Regions from separate parts of the Homo sapiens genome. Here region 1 is linked to region 2. Evidence: promoter capture Hi-C in 16 types of primary human blood cells and fetal thymus (Javierre and others, 2016). All regions are on one chromosome and are shown on one strand. The core of a region is centred on a gene start or on the middle of the fragment in contact, and the rest is flanking DNA. Distances in the headings are between cores, read along the strand shown. Region 1 overlaps CHAMP1 (chromosome alignment maintaining phosphoprotein 1). Region 2 holds the start of TMEM255B (transmembrane protein 255B).

What was found. Contacts are between HindIII fragments. The CHiCAGO score rates a contact against its expected background, and 5 or more counts as called.
Region 1: a fragment that was not itself captured here is called in contact with the fragment with the promoter of TMEM255B in region 2 in 2 of 17 cell types (naive CD8 T cells and naive CD4 T cells); the score reaches 8.4 in naive CD8 T cells.

The regions. Positions count from the first base shown.
Region 1 is chr13:114,323,929-114,327,057 of GRCh38, forward strand. CHAMP1 (chromosome alignment maintaining phosphoprotein 1) reads left to right here. Exons shown (of 3, transcript NM_032436.4): 3 at 1-3,129. The coding sequence ends at 2,353. Among named protein-coding and RNA genes, the nearest start is that of LINC01054, 8.5 kb to the right of the region's middle. The HindIII fragment of the contact is 721 bases long and covers 1,263-1,983 here.
Region 2 is chr13:113,757,484-113,760,908 of GRCh38, forward strand. It overlaps TMEM255B (transmembrane protein 255B), which reads left to right and starts at 1,743. Exons shown (of 9, transcript NM_182614.4): 1 at 1,743-1,832. The coding sequence starts at 1,787. RefSeq lists enhancers at 903-1,404, 1,961-2,462. The HindIII fragment of the contact is 10,322 bases long and covers 1-3,425 here.

The DNA of each region.
Region 1 (3,129 bases), core at 373-2,872, 570 kb after region 2:
ACAAATCCATATGGGTACCATCCATCCAGAATTTTGTGATGAAATGGATGCTGGTGGGCTAGGCAAAATGATATTTTACCAGAAAAGTGCAAAGTTATTTCACTGCCATAAATGCTTCTTCACCAGCAAGATGTACTCTAATGTATACTATCACATCACATCCAAACATGCATCCCCAGACAAATGGAATGATAAACCAAAAAATCAGTTGAACAAAGAAACAGATCCTGTGAAAAGCCCTCCTCTTCCTGAACACCAGAAAATACCCTGCAATTCAGCAGAACCAAAATCCATACCTGCCCTTTCAATGGAAACACAGAAACTTGGTTCAGTTTTGTCTCCAGAATCGCCAAAACCTACTCCTCTTACTCCCCTGGAGCCTCAGAAACCTGGCTCTGTTGTTTCTCCTGAGCTACAGACACCTCTTCCTTCTCCTGAGCCTTCAAAACCTGCCTCTGTTTCTTCTCCTGAACCTCCAAAATCAGTCCCTGTTTGTGAGTCTCAGAAACTTGCCCCTGTTCCTTCTCCAGAACCACAGAAACCTGCCCCTGTATCTCCTGAGTCAGTAAAGGCTACTCTTAGTAATCCCAAACCCCAGAAGCAGTCTCATTTCCCGGAAACATTGGGGCCACCTTCAGCCTCATCTCCAGAGTCACCAGTTCTAGCTGCTTCCCCAGAACCTTGGGGACCATCCCCAGCTGCATCTCCAGAATCTCGGAAGTCAGCCCGGACTACCTCCCCTGAGCCAAGGAAGCCATCCCCTTCAGAGTCTCCTGAACCTTGGAAGCCGTTCCCTGCTGTCTCCCCAGAGCCTAGGAGACCAGCCCCCGCTGTGTCACCAGGCTCTTGGAAACCAGGGCCACCTGGGTCCCCTAGGCCTTGGAAATCCAATCCTTCAGCATCATCAGGACCTTGGAAGCCAGCTAAACCTGCTCCATCTGTGTCTCCTGGACCTTGGAAACCAATTCCTTCTGTATCTCCTGGACCTTGGAAACCAACTCCATCTGTGTCTTCTGCATCCTGGAAATCTTCATCAGTCTCACCCAGCTCCTGGAAGTCTCCCCCTGCATCTCCTGAGTCATGGAAGTCTGGCCCACCAGAACTCCGAAAGACAGCTCCCACGTTGTCTCCTGAACATTGGAAGGCAGTTCCCCCAGTGTCTCCAGAGCTTCGCAAACCCGGCCCACCACTATCCCCAGAGATCCGTAGTCCAGCAGGATCTCCAGAGCTCAGAAAACCCTCAGGGTCACCAGATCTTTGGAAGCTTTCTCCTGATCAGCGGAAAACTTCTCCTGCTTCACTTGATTTCCCTGAGTCCCAGAAAAGTTCCCGTGGTGGTTCTCCTGATCTCTGGAAGTCTTCCTTTTTTATTGAGCCTCAGAAACCTGTCTTCCCTGAGACCCGAAAACCAGGTCCTTCTGGGCCATCTGAGTCCCCCAAAGCAGCCTCAGATATCTGGAAGCCTGTTCTCTCTATCGATACTGAGCCTAGAAAACCTGCCCTGTTTCCCGAGCCTGCCAAAACAGCCCCTCCTGCTTCTCCAGAAGCACGCAAACGTGCCCTTTTTCCAGAGCCCCGGAAGCATGCCCTTTTCCCTGAACTCCCCAAATCTGCTCTATTCTCAGAATCACAGAAGGCTGTTGAGCTTGGTGATGAACTACAAATAGATGCCATAGATGATCAAAAATGTGATATTTTGGTTCAGGAAGAACTTCTAGCTTCACCTAAGAAACTCTTAGAAGATACTTTATTTCCTTCCTCAAAGAAGCTCAAGAAAGACAACCAAGAGAGCTCAGACGCTGAGCTTAGTAGTAGTGAGTACATAAAAACAGATTTGGATGCGATGGATATTAAGGGCCAGGAATCAAGCAGTGATCAAGAGCAGGTTGATGTGGAATCCATTGATTTTAGCAAAGAGAACAAAATGGACATGACTAGTCCAGAGCAGTCTAGAAATGTGCTACAGTTTACTGAAGAAAAAGAAGCTTTTATCTCTGAAGAGGAGATTGCAAAATACATGAAGCGTGGAAAAGGAAAGTATTATTGCAAAATTTGTTGCTGTCGTGCTATGAAAAAAGGTGCTGTTTTGCATCATTTGGTTAATAAGCATAATGTTCATAGCCCTTACAAATGCACAATCTGTGGAAAGGCTTTTCTTTTGGAATCTCTCCTTAAAAATCATGTAGCAGCCCATGGGCAAAGTTTACTTAAATGTCCACGTTGTAATTTTGAATCAAATTTCCCAAGAGGTTTTAAGAAACATTTAACTCATTGTCAAAGCCGGCATAATGAAGAGGCAAATAAAAAGCTAATGGAAGCTCTTGAACCGCCACTGGAGGAGCAGCAAATTTGATAACACAGTGTGAATATTTGTTCTACAAAGGTGTTTGTTGGAACCATTCTTTGTAAGTATAGCTTATCAGATAGCATAGTTGGATCAGTAGATGACATGTATGGTGTACCGTGTTTCACTGTCTCAGTTGTGTTACTAAGAATGAGCATTTGATCATTTTTTTCTGGTCTCTGTCTATGTGACTATCTTGTAAGTCAATAAATTTCTGTATAGTCCAGATGGATTAAACTTCTCATTTCTTTTAAATATGTATGAATAATAATACAAGGAAGTAGGCATTCCATTTAATAATCAAGAGCAAGTTGTACTCAAAGCATTCAGTTAAAGTGTATCTGTGTGTGGAACTAATTTCAGACAATAGAAAATATTAGTTGAAATGTTTAAGAATTAGGCATGAAAAATAAATTTGAGAAATTTTGTTTCCTTACATGTATTTTTAAATCATAAGAGTTATTTTCTATCTGATGTAAAATTAGTTTATAAATCTTAATCAGCTTCTAGATGTTTATTAGCTTTTATGTCATGAAATGTTGGAGTCTCAGGGTTGCTGATTTTCTGCTAATGGGAAAAATTGACTAAGTCTTTAAAATAGTTTGCAGCCTTCTCCCACAGGAGACAAGTGAAAGATAAGTGTGATTTTAGATCTTTCTTGTCCATAGTTGTTTTCAGTGGAGTCTTCCATTCTGTATCTTACCCTAAGATCTGGTTCTTCCCTCCCCATCCCCACCCCCCACCCACCGCCTGCCAGCTCACACTAATAGATGATTCTTAATTGC
Region 2 (3,425 bases), core at 493-2,992:
ATGTGTGTATGTCTGCATGTGTGTATGTGTATATGTGTGTGTGTATTCCATAGCATGTTGCCCTCTGACATGCTGTGCATTTTTCTTGTTTATTGTATTATTATTCATGGCCTCACTTCCCCACCAGGATCCTTGTTTACGTTGCTCATTGATACATCCCAAGTACCTGGAACAGTGTCTGGTATATCGCGGATGTTTAGTAAGTCTTGAGAGGCTCACTGAGTGAACAGTGTTAATTTTCATGGTTTAAAACTTTATATAAATGGTACCATACTCGCTGCCGTACTTGCTGTCGTACTCGCTGCCGTACTGTGCACTTGCATTTTTGCTCCGCGTTCTGTTTTTGGCATTTATCCACATTGATCCATGTAGCTCTCATTTATTTTAACTGCCATGTGGTATTTCGCTGTATATGCCCATTTCTTTATCGCTTCTCCCCGTGTTGGATATTCAGGGTGTGTCCGGTGCTTTGGACACACAGTGTTGTGAGGAATATTCTGTACGCATCTTCTAGCACATGCATACTTCTTGTGGTAGTTTCTCTCTCACAGTGGATGGCCTATTAGAATGACTAGGGAATTCTTAGCTATTAGTTTGTTCCCAGAAGTTCTGGTTCAATTGATCTGGTCTGGGTTCAGTGCTGCAGAAATGTTTTTTCTTTTAAAGACATTCCTGGATGACTTTAACGACAGCCGGGGTTGAGAACCACGGCTCCTGGCTCGAAGGAGCAGATCTATGTTTGTGTTCTTGGGCATATCTAGAAAGAGATATGCTTTCTTTCTGGCTTGTCATCTACTTGCTTCAATTTTCCTAAAGGTTGCTTTCAAAGTGGTGGCACCATGCGTGATCCCAGCGGTGAATGCAGATTCCCACGTTTTCATTAACATTCTTTAAGTTGTTTGACCCTTGGGGTTTTCTGATAGGATGAGGGTGAAACGCATCCTCTTGTTCCCACAGCGTTCCCCTAATTCCGGGGGCTGAGTTTATTGATCGTTCAAGCATCTTCTTTTGTGACGGGACCGCTGATGTCCTTGACTCAAAGATGTTAAAAATACGTTTAGAAGGATCTTTATTTTTTCCTGCTGCTGTACGAGGCACCCTTTCTGGCCCCGTGTTTCCTTGCCCTTCTTTCCAGCAGCAGATTTTACTCAGAACAACTTCAGTGCTGTGGACACAAAGACGCAGGCCTTGGAGAGGCGGGTCAGCCCTGCCTCGGGGCTGCTGAGTGAGGTGCCAGATGCGTTTGTTCCTCATTTACTCATTTGCGTTTGTTCCTCATTTACTCGTTCCTCGCAGACTGGGTTGTAACACCATGTACCACCCTCTGAACCCAGAGATCAAGGGCTGGCTGGCCCTGTAGCCCCAAGGAGCTCCGTCACCGGCCAATGGGGAGGCGAACCCGTGGTGACCCACTCAGCGGCACCGCCAAGGGCTGAGCGTGGCGCCAGCGGCGGAAGGCCCGGGGTCACCGTCCCAGGCCGGGGCTCCGACCCCGAGTCCGCAGGGTCCTCTCCAGGCACCTTCCATCTGGGGTCTGGCTTCCACTCCCGGCCGCGGCGTCCTGATTTCCAGAAACCAGGCGGCCGCTGGAGGGGAGAAGGGGGAGCGGGCGCAGCGGGGGAGGGAGGAGAAGAAACGCCGGAGAAGGGAGAGTAGAGCGAGGAAGGACGCGAGGCGGGCGGAGCGCGGGGAGGTGCAGGGGGCGGGGAAGGGGCGGCGCCGCGAGGGCGGCTCCTGGCGGCGGGACTGTGGCTGTGGCCCCGGGAGAGCCGGGTGGGGCCTCGGGATGCAGCCGCCGGTGCCCGGGCCCCTGGGCCTGCTGGACCCCGCAGGTGAGCGCGGGGCTGGGGGCTCGTCTCGGCTCCTGCGGGGGAGCGTGGGGACCCCGGGGCTGGGACTACAGGTCCCCGGCCGGCCCGGGCGGAACCTGCGCGGAGACGCGGCACGGGGTCTGGTCCCTCCGCCTCCTTCGAGCTCTGTCTTTGGAACACTTTGCATTTCGCACTGGGGTCGGGCGTTCGTCCTACCGGTTCGTTCATTCATTCTCTCTCCCTGTCTCTCTCTCTGTCTCTGTCTCTGTCTCTCTCGCTCTTTCTGTCTCTGCCTCCTCAGTCTTTGCCTTTCTCTGACTCTGTGTCCGTTCCTCTTGGCCTCTCTCTCCCTGTTACGTTTTATTATGAGGAACAGGCGCCCCAAAGTGCGCTCCTTCCCCATCTCTTCCGTTTATTCCAACCTACACCATTTTCCGGGAAAACTTCGTTTGGAAGAGCGAGGTAGCCTTTTCCTGTTTGAACGTGCAGAGGCGCTCACAGAACTGGACAGTGTTGCTTGGTTTCGGCTCGCCCCTCTCTCGTGTTTCTCCCCGGTGTGTTCACGGAATCTCCAATTCTTCCACTTCCCAGACCAAGCCCGCTGCAGCCTCGGAGCCAGGCAAAGGCTGGGAAAACAGGAAACCTGTTGCGTGTTCACCAGTTCGCAAGCCGGGCTCGGGGGCTCTGCCGGGAAGTGGCCAGGACTGGAAGGATGCCGGGTGTCTTCCTGAGGGGGAGAGGGCTGGGCAGATTTCAGAACAAAAGAGAAACAGAGTTCCCTAGAAAGTGAAGCCCTGACGGCTGGAGGGAGGGATGGAGTGGTGTCTAGGGGGCTCTGCCGCTCCCTCAGAAATAATCCAACACAAACTTCTGGGGATTAACCTCACAACCCTTTTACTGCGGCATCGTTCGGAACCGGACGAATTACTGTTACTTAAAATAATCAAATAATTTGGCTTCTTTCTAAAAGAAACCACTATATGCCTTCCAATCTAAAGCAAAATGCTCTATGGTCAAATGTATTAATGTGGATTAGTCTATTGGTGTTTAATAATGATAACTATTATTATTATTTATTAACTAGTTTTATCATTATTAGAATGCCTTAATGTTTAAAAATAGCATCTGACTTAGATTTTCTTCTGACAAAGAACTTTAAACCTTAAAACAATACTTGGAGCTGGTCTTTTTAGTATATGAAACATTGGTGTATCTGGGTAGGATTATGGGTCTTTTTGTTTGGAGCTGGTCTTTTACTAAAATGTATAAAGCATTGGTGTGTCTGGGGTTGGATTATGGTCTTTCTGCTTTGGTGTGTCGGGGTGGATTATGGTCTTTCTGCTTTGGGGTATCTGGGGGTGGGTTATGGTCTTTCTGCTTTGGGGTATCTGGGGGTGGATTATGGTCTTTCTGCTTTGGGGTATCTGGGGGTGGATTATGGTCTTTCTGCTTTGGTGTGTCTGGGGGTGGATTATGGTCTTTCTGCTTTGGGGTATCGGGGGTGGGTTATGGTCTTTCTGCTTTGGGGTATCTGGGGGTGGATTATGGTCTTTCTGCTTTGGTGTGCCTGGGGGTGGATTATGGTCTTTCTGCTTTGGTGTGTCTGGGGGTGGG